Regions from separate parts of the Homo sapiens genome. Here region 2 is linked to region 1. Evidence: promoter capture Hi-C in 16 types of primary human blood cells and fetal thymus (Javierre and others, 2016). All regions are on one chromosome and are shown on one strand. Each heading gives the region's core, a stretch centred on a gene start or on the middle of the fragment in contact. The rest is flanking DNA. Distances are from core to core; before and after follow the strand shown. Region 1 holds the start of ZNF630 (zinc finger protein 630). Region 2 holds the start of RBM3 (RNA binding motif protein 3).

Region 1 (4,305 bases), core at 1,112-3,611:
AATACCATGTAGATCACACATTCTCACTGGGGGGTGATACTGCCCCCAAGGGGACAAAAATTAGTTCTTGGAGGCAAAACAAAACAAAACAAAACAAAAACAAAAAAAAGCTTCTTAGATATTACAATGGGTTGTGACCCTCCAAAGCAACCATAGCTGACAAAACCTTATTCCTTGGTATTTAATTTCCTTCACCAGATTTTGGTATTACATGAGCAGCAGTAACCTTGAGTTCAAGGAAGATCCATGAAATATATACAAAATTAGTGCTGCAAAACTATGGCGAATAGGTAACATTCAGGTATTAACTCACTTCTCATCCCAAGCCTCACAGGGTAGGCCCTGCTATTATCCTCATTTCGCAGTGGGAAACTGATGCCTAGAGAGGTTTCATGAGTTGTCTAAGATCACACTGCCAGTGATTTAGAGCGAGGTGGTAGAGGAACAAAAAGTAAAGAACTCCTCCCAAGCTGTCCTAGCACTAAGATTTTCAGGCAACACCCCTTGCTTCTGGATGCCCTAAAAAATTAGTTATCCTCCTAAATTCCACAGGACATTGTCTGTTTTTTTTTTTTTTGTTTTTTGTTTTTTGTTTTTGAGATGGAGTCTCGCTCTGTCGCCCAGGCTGGAGTGCAGTGGCGCGATCTCGGCTCACTGCAAGCTCCGCCTCCCTGGTTCACTCCATTCTCCTGCCTCAGCCTCCCCAGTAGCTGGGACTACAGGAGCCCGCCACCACGCCCAGCTAATTTTTTTGTAATTTTAGTAGAGACGGGGTTTCACCGTGTTAGCCAGGATGGTCTCGATTTCCTGACCTCGTGATCCGGCCGCCTCGGCCTCCCAAAGTGCTGGGATTATAGGTGTGAGCCACCACGCCCAGCCGATATTGTCTGCTTTTTAACTGAAGAATGTGCTTTACAGTTCAAAATTAACTGAAAATCTTCATATTTAAAGCCATAAAATGAAAAGAGAAGCCAAAAGCTGGAAGGAGATATTTGCAAAACACATACCACTACTAAAGGAGTGGTATCAGAATATATAAAAACAATTCCTGGCCGGGCACGGTGGCTCACACCTGTAATCCCAGCACTTTGGGAGGCCGAGGTGGGTGTATCACCTGAGGTCAAGAGTTCGGGACCAGCCTGGCCAACATGGCGAAACCCTGTCTCTACTACAAATACAAAAAAATCAGCCAGGCGTGGTGGCAGGCGCCTGTAATTCCAGCTACTCGGGAGGCTGAGGTAGGATAATTGCTAGAACCCAGGAGGTGGAGGTTGCAGTGAACCATGATTTCTCCACTGCACTCCAGCCTGGGCGACAGAGTGAGACTTCGTCTAAAAAAAAAAAAAAAAAAAAAAATTCCTACAAATCATTAAGAAAAGGGCAGAGAGTCCAACAGAAAAATGAACAAAAGACAGGCCCCTCACAAAAGAAGATCTCCAAGTGATGAATCCATATAAGAAAATGTGCTCAAACTTATTGGTCATGAGGGAAATACAAATCAAACCACCAAGTTGGACTTCTCCATCGGAATGTGGACACCACAGGAGCAGAGATTTTTGTTCATTCATGCACATATGATTGATCTGAAAAAGCCACCCATCATGGACCCCACAGAATGTCAACACTGACCCCACACACACTCCCATTCTTGTCCTCATAGACCCTCATCCCTCACCCCAGATCCCCCTATCCACTCACCCCACGGATCAGCATCCCTCACCCTACAGACCACCCATCACTCACCCCAGACTCCCTTCACCCATCCCATAGAAGCCCCATCACTCACCCTTACAGACATCATCAAACACCGCACAGATCCCCCATCACCCCACAAACTCCCATTTGCATAACCCACATACTGTTACCCCTGGTCCCACAGGCTCCCCTATCACTGTTCTCCACGTCACTCAATCCCCTCCTCAGGCCCTCCACTTGTCTCCATCCGTCACTGATCACATAGACCCGCAGCACTCAGCCAGGCCCCTCACCCCGGCTCTGCTCTCAAGCCGGGCTTGGCTCCCCGCCTGCCCAAATGCGTTCAACATCCCCCGAAAGGCCATTTCCCTTCCAGTCTTCCCGGAGAGATGTCAGGGTGACGAGGGAGCTTATCTTTCGGTGGCTCCGAAACAGCCACGAAGCCGAGCTCTACCAGTAACAAAAATGGCGTCATTCCGCCAGCGCCAGGACCTCTGTCGCTGGCCGTGGTCTCGCACTGCTTCTGGAGGCTCCCATTCCAGCCAGAGGAGAGGTGCGTTTGGGGGCCCGGGGGAGTCCTCGTGATATCTCCGAGTTTGGGTATTCGGAATTGATCCTACGAAAGCAGTGTGAGGCTTGGAAGGGCCGCGACTTGTCCGGGTGAGTGGGCGTTCCCGGCCACCAGAAGAGGCACGGCCTGAGCAAAGGCGTGGCGACATGGCAGGGTGGGAAACGGGGAAAGTGGGAAGGCTGGACAGAGCACCCCCCGGGAGATTCCTCCGCAGAAGCGAATTCCTAAAACGTCTGGAGAAAGGGAAGAGACCTTTGACATCATGCAGCCTTTCAGGGGGCTCACACATACCCGCCCACTTCTCCCCACCTGGCCTCGGCGCCCTGCCGCCTTCCTATTGTTCCTGCTTGGCGTCAGGACCCGCCCCCATCTGTCACTCACTGCCCACCGGTCCTCCATTGGCTCCTTTGAACACGGAAGGGCCCACCTTCACCTGTCATTTACAGCCTGGACTTCTGCCTGCCCTAGTTCAAGTAGGCTTATATGGCCTTTTGCAGCCCGTATCAAAACTAAAAGAGTTCATAGAGTCAGAGGTTCGAGGTAAAACCTAAGGGACATTGGTTTTAGACGACTTAACAAAGGGCTGGATTGGAAGTCAGCCCGGAACAGGATTGCAGAGTTAACAAAGGTTCATGTTCGATACAAAACGGGAACTCTGATGGTTACAATAGTTAAGAAAGTCCTAGGATTCAAGACCTCTATCAGGGTGTATGGATGGAGAAAACATTAACAAATATCCTGCTTGAAGATCAAATCAGAGGGGCACTGGTGGTGCAATAGTAACCCAATTCCAAAGTTATTTCAGAGAGGCCTTAAATGGAAGGTTAACTTAGACCCAAATCTGAGCCAAGACCAGAGACCCATTAAAGTCACGTGATGTGGTTAACAGAGCCCCGGAATTCACAGCCTATACCAAAGGGGTAATGATGGTGGAAGAATTAATCAAGGTCTGACTTCAAAGTCAAACCAAATGGCATTCATGATAAAAATGTTAACTGAGGGCTGGGCACAGTGGCTAACACTTGCAATCTCAGAACTTTGGGAGGCCAAGGCGGGAGGATCACTTGAGGCCAGGAGTTAGAGACCAGCCTGGCCAACATGGCAAAACCCTATCTCTACTAAAAATACAAAATTTAGCCAGATGTGGTGGCACATGCCTGTAGTCTCAGCTGCTTGGGAGGCTGAGGCATGAGAATCGCTTGAACCTGGGAGGTGGAGGTTGCAGTGGGCCAAGACTGTGACACTGCACTCCAACCTGGGGGAGAGACAAAACTCTGTCTCAAAAAATAAAAATAAGAAAAAAATGTTAACTGAGGGCCGGGCACAGTGGCTGACACCTGTAATCCCAGGACTTTGGGAGGCTGAGGCGGGAGGATCATGTGAGCCCAGGAGATCAAGACCAGTCTGGGCAACATAGTGAGACTCCATCTCTATAAAAATAAATGTTAACTGAGGATTGGGGTTGGTGGATACAGGAGAAGGGGCACAAGTAGCTAAAAAGTTAGTACAGCCTTGATTTTCTGTACATACCAAAGGATCATAGATGGAGAGGACTCAACTGAGGCCTGCAGTCAGTGTAAAGATCTGAGGGATGCAGAGCGTAGTGGCTCACTCCTATAATCCCAGCATTTTGGGAGGTGGAGGCAGGCAGATCACTTGAAGCCAGGACTCAGCATAGCCAACTTGGCGAAAACCTGTCTCTACTAAAAATACGAAAATTACCCAGACGTGGTGGTGCATGCCTGTAATTCCAGCTGCTTGGGTGGCCGAAGCATGAGAATCACTAGAACCTGGGAGGTGGAGGTTGCAGTGAGCAAGAACTGAGGGGCAGTAATGGGGAAAGAGTTAACAGACATGCAAAAAGATTCACATGTAAATTGCCCTGGTGATGGAAAAGTGAACAGAAACTCAAGCTTAACACATAGACCCAGGATTATTAATTTTCCACCCTCAAAGCCCTGAATTCTCTCTCTAGATCCAAACCCATTAATAGTGGAATGGATAACAGATTCCCCAGTTCAAGGTAAAATTAAGGGTTG
Region 2 (4,652 bases), core at 2,081-4,580, 500 kb after region 1:
CCTGTAATACCAGCACTTTTGGAGGCCGAGGTGGGCAGATCACAAGGTCAGGAGATCCAGACCACGGTGAAACCCCGCCTCTACTAAAAAATACAAAAAAAAAAAATTGGCTGGGTGCGGTAGCAGGCGCCTGTAGTCCCAGCTACTCGGGAGGCTGAGGCGTGAACCTGGAAGGCAGAGCTTACAGTGAGCCGAGATCGCGCCACTGCACTCCAGCCTGAGCGACAGAGCGAGACTCCGTCTCAAAAAAAAAGACCATCCTGGCCAACATGGTGAAACCCCATCTCTACTAAAAATACAAAAATTAGCTGGGCGTGGTTGCACGCGCCTGTAGTCCCAGCTACTCAGGAGGCTGAGGCAGGAAAATCACTTGAACCCAGGAGGCGGAGGTTGCAGTGAGCCAAGATCGCGCCACTGCACTCCAGCCTGGCGACAGAGTGAGACTCTGTCAAAAAAAAAAAAAAAGCTCAGAAGTCAGGTACAATAGTGCTCCCCTGTAATCCCAGTTACTCAGGAGGCTGAGTTGGGGAGAATGCTTGAGGCCAGGAGTCAGCCTGGGCTCATCTCTTAAAAACAACAATAACAACAAAACCAGCAACAAACCACCTCAGAGACAGACCCATATATCTATGGAACTTGATACATGATAGAGGTGGTAAAACACACACAGGGATGGGACAGATTGCTTAATAGATGGTGATGGGGCATCTGGCTCATGACACAGAGAAAAATAAAATTGGAGCTCTATCTCACACCATATACAAGGACGAACTCTACATGGATTAAAGACCTAAATGTGGCCGGGTGCGGTGGCTCATGCCTGTAATCCCAGCACTTTGGGAGGCCGAGGCAGGCGAATCACTTGAGGCCAGGAGTTCAAGACCAGCCTGGCCAACATGGCAAAAACCTGTCTCTACTAAAAATGCAAAAATTAGCCAGGTGTGGTGGCACACACCTGTAATCCTAGCTACGCAGCAGGCTGAGGCAGGAGAATTGCTTGAACCCAGGAGGCGGAGGTTGCAGTGAGCCGAGATAGTGCCATTGCACTCCAGCCTGGGCAACAAGAGCGAAACTCTGTCAAAAAAAAAAAAAAAGAAAGAAAGAAAGAAACTGTAGGGGAACATTTTGTGACCTGGGAAAGAGAATGATTTCTTTAAAAGCACAGACCAGGCCGGGCGTGGTGGCTCACGCCTGTAATCCCAGCACTTTGGGAGGCCGAGGCAGGCGGATCATGAAGTCAGGAGTTTGAGAACAGCCTGAACAACATGGTGAAACCTCATCTCTACTAAAAATACAAAAATTAGCTGGGCATAGTGGCACATGCCCGTAATCCCAGCTACTCAGGAGACTAAAGCAGGAGAATCACTTGAACCTGGGAGGCGGAGGTTGCAGTGAGCTGAGATCATGCCACTGCACTCCAGCCTGAGCGACAGAGTGAGACTCCGTCTCAGAAAAAAGCACAGAACATAGGGGGAAAAATGATTATATCAAAATTATGGATCTTTATTCAACTAAGTTTACTGCTTACAAAGTTAATAACACAAATGCCAGAGCTGGAGAGGCTATTTCCAACACCTAAGGGATTAATAATTAGACTATGTGAGGAATCCCTGACAATAACAGGAAGATAAATATGGGAATTACCCCAACAGGAATATGGATGTACTGTATTCTGTATGTTAGCAAATTTGGTCTGTGTTGGGCAAATTCATTCTATGGATAAGAAATTTAGCCTCTGAGGGCAAACTAACTTATTCTTCGTTGATGTGGCGCTCAGAAGTGAAAAATCTGTCAAATCCATTTATTGTAAAGGTGGCCAAGACACTGAAGACTAAATTGTGAACAGTGGGCTCAGACACTACTTGATTGGGATAAGTCTATTGTGTATTGCGAAAGTCCCTTCTGTGAATCAAGGGCTCAGTTACTTTTTTTTTTTTTTTGAGACTGAGTCTTGCTCTGTCGCCCAAGCTGGAGTGCAGTGGCATGATCTCAGCTCACTGCAACCTCCACCTCCCGGGTTCAAGCGATTATCCCGCCTCAGCCTCCTGAGTAGCTGGGACTACAGGTGCCTACCACCACGCCCGGCTAATTTTTTTTTTTTTTTGTATTGTTAGTAGAGACAGGGTTTCACCATATTGGCCAGGGTAGTCTTGAACTCCTGACCTTGTGATCTGCCCACTTCGGCCTCCCAAAGTGCTGGGATTACAGGCATGAGCCACTGCGCCCGGCAAGGGCTCAGTTACTTTCGAAGAGAGCAAAAATTGCTCTATGGATTGGGATTTACAACCTCTGAAGATCGTAGCATCCTCTTTTGTTTTGTTTTGTTTTCACCCAGGCTGGAGTGCAATGGCGTGGTCTCGGCTCACTGCAACCTCCGCCTCCCGGGTTCAAGCGATTTTCCAGCCTCAGCCTCCCGAGTAGGTGGGACTACAGGCACGTGCCACCACACCCAGCTAATTTTTTTTTTCTTTTTTTTTTTTTTTTTTTTTTTTTGTATTTTTAGTAGAGATGGGGTTTCACCATGTTGGCCATGCAGGTCTCGAACTCCTGAACTCGTGAACCGCCCGCTTTGGCCTCCCAAAGTGCTGGGAATACAGGCGTGAGCCACCGCGCCCGGCCAGCATCCTGTTTTGTAAAAGCCATCTCAGGCAGTCTATTGGTGAGAAAATTAAGGGGCTGGCTTCACGCCAGCAGTCAGACAAGGGTGAGGGCTGAAGTCAGAGATGAGATGGAATGACGCCAGGGAAAAGGGTCCCATGACAGGCGGCTAGATGTTGAGCACAGAGGAGAAAGAGTAGGAGTCAGGGTCAAACCTTAAAACGTTGGGTCTGACATCATGGACTGTGAAGGGTGATGACATCAGTGACGGTGGGGGATAAAATGTCAGGCCTTTAAAGGGTATGAGGTTAAAGAACTAGAAGGTGAAGGAGGTTAACATCAGAGAATGGCAGGGACCTAGAGGAAGACGACTACGATGGTGAGGAAGACATCCGATCCAGCGGGGGAAATGATGGCAAGGACGGGAGGATGATGTCAGGGACAGCAAGTAGTATGAGATTGAGAAGGTTCCTTTGTGGAAGGGATAAAGGCAGCTCAGCCGGTTGTGGGGGGGATGCTGACGTTTAGGGTGCACCAGCTGTTCAAAAGTCGACCCCATTTCCGGAAACACCCCATTTCCGGAAACACCCCATTTCGCGGAGAACACTGCTCCCTTCGCTTTGCTGTCCCTTCCTCTCCCCACCACTCCGCTCCTGCTGGCCTCAGCCAATCAGCACGCACGCCGGGACGCGCAAGGGGAACGTTCCGGGACGTTCTCGCTACGTACTCTTTATCAATCGTCTTCCGGCGCAGCCCCGTCCCTGTTTTTTGTGCTCCTCCGAGCTCGCTGTTCGTCCGGGTTTTTTACGTTTTAATTTCCAGGTAAGTTGCATATGTCCTGCGAAACGGCGGCTCCTCGCCACACACGCGCCGCGCCGGCCGTGACCGGGGAATAGCGAGTGGGGAGAGTAATGGCCACTGACACGTAGGCTTGGCTTTCTCTGGGACGGGCGGGTCCCGTGCTTGGAGGTGAAACATTTCGGTTGGTGGGAGGCCGGCGCGCTGTATCTGAGTGTGAGGCCTACCGGGAGGGACTGGTGGCGTCGGTGGTGGCAGTGACCACGCGACAGCCGACACTTACTTTCCTTATCCCACGTGGCCGCCGCCATCTTGTTCTGCCGGCGTTAAGGGAACGCAGGGATGTTCTGGGCTTGCGCAGTGGCACAAAATGACGGGCGTGGCGGCTATGAATGTGAGAGCATGCGCAATGTGGCCCCCTAATGGTGGCTGCGCTGAGCCAGCTCCTCAGATTACCACCTTATTGGCCGCCTTTCTCAGCTTTTCTGTAGTTACCCATATTTTGTTCCTCTTTCTTGTCTATTTTCTGTGCTTTTTCTCTGCTTTCCGTCTCGCTATTTTCTCACATCTCCATTTTCTTTCTCCTTCCTGCCACCATTCTTCATGTTCTTCCCACAGGACTTGAACTGCCATGTCCTCTGAAGAAGGAAAGCTCTTCGTGGGAGGGCTCAACTTTAACACCGACGAGCAGGCACTGGAAGACCACTTCAGCAGTTTCGGACCTATCTCTGAGGGTGAGACGGGCCATACTCACAATGGGGGTTGGTGAGAGAAAGTCTGGGATCCTTGCATTTCAAGGAGTATTAACTGAAAAGTTAGGACCCACGCCTCCAAATTCTTTTTCTTCCTAAGCCTATGGTGTAGACTAAGGATGAGGGGAAGCGTCTTTGGGATTAGTGGGAGCGCTCCGTTTTCCCTACCTATGCCATCTCCTTTTCCGGCCACCCTTTGCTACTTAACCTTTGGGGTACTGACTGGTCCACATTGCTCCATCTTCTCTCCCTCTCACAGTGGTCGTTGTCAAGGACCGGGAGACTCAGCGGTCCAGGGGTTTTGGTTTCATCACCTTCACCAACCCAGAGCATGCTTCAGTTGCCATGAGAGCCATGAACGGAGAGGTGGGGCCTCCTATCTGCAGAGGGACCTTGTCCCCATCTGCGGCTTCCTTCATTCTTTTTGTTTTTCCCTCTGTGTCTGCTCGGGGCAGCGTGGCCACCAAGCCCCGCAGTGCCCACTCACAGGAGCATGACTGCCTT

The links. Contacts are between HindIII fragments. The CHiCAGO score rates a contact against its expected background, and 5 or more counts as called.
Region 2: the fragment with the promoter of RBM3 here is called in contact with the fragment with the promoter of ZNF630 in region 1 in 8 of 17 cell types (naive CD4 T cells, total CD8 T cells, total CD4 T cells and 5 more); the score reaches 8.0 in naive CD4 T cells.

What each region holds. Positions count from the first base shown.
Region 1 is chrX:48,069,279-48,073,583 of GRCh38, forward strand. It overlaps ZNF630 (zinc finger protein 630), which reads right to left and starts at 2,362. Exons shown (of 5, transcript NM_001282201.2): 1 at 1,989-2,362. RefSeq lists an enhancer at 2,333-2,592 and a silencer at 2,504-2,700. The HindIII fragment of the contact is 4,069 bases long and covers 109-4,177 here.
Region 2 is chrX:48,571,154-48,575,805 of GRCh38, forward strand. It overlaps RBM3 (RNA binding motif protein 3), which reads left to right and starts at 3,331. Exons shown (of 7, transcript NM_006743.5): 1 at 3,331-3,420; 2 at 4,015-4,130; 3 at 4,408-4,514. The coding sequence starts at 4,028. RefSeq lists a cis regulatory region at 2,464-3,449 and enhancers at 3,206-4,405, 3,389-3,658. The HindIII fragment of the contact is 13,325 bases long and covers 1-4,652 here.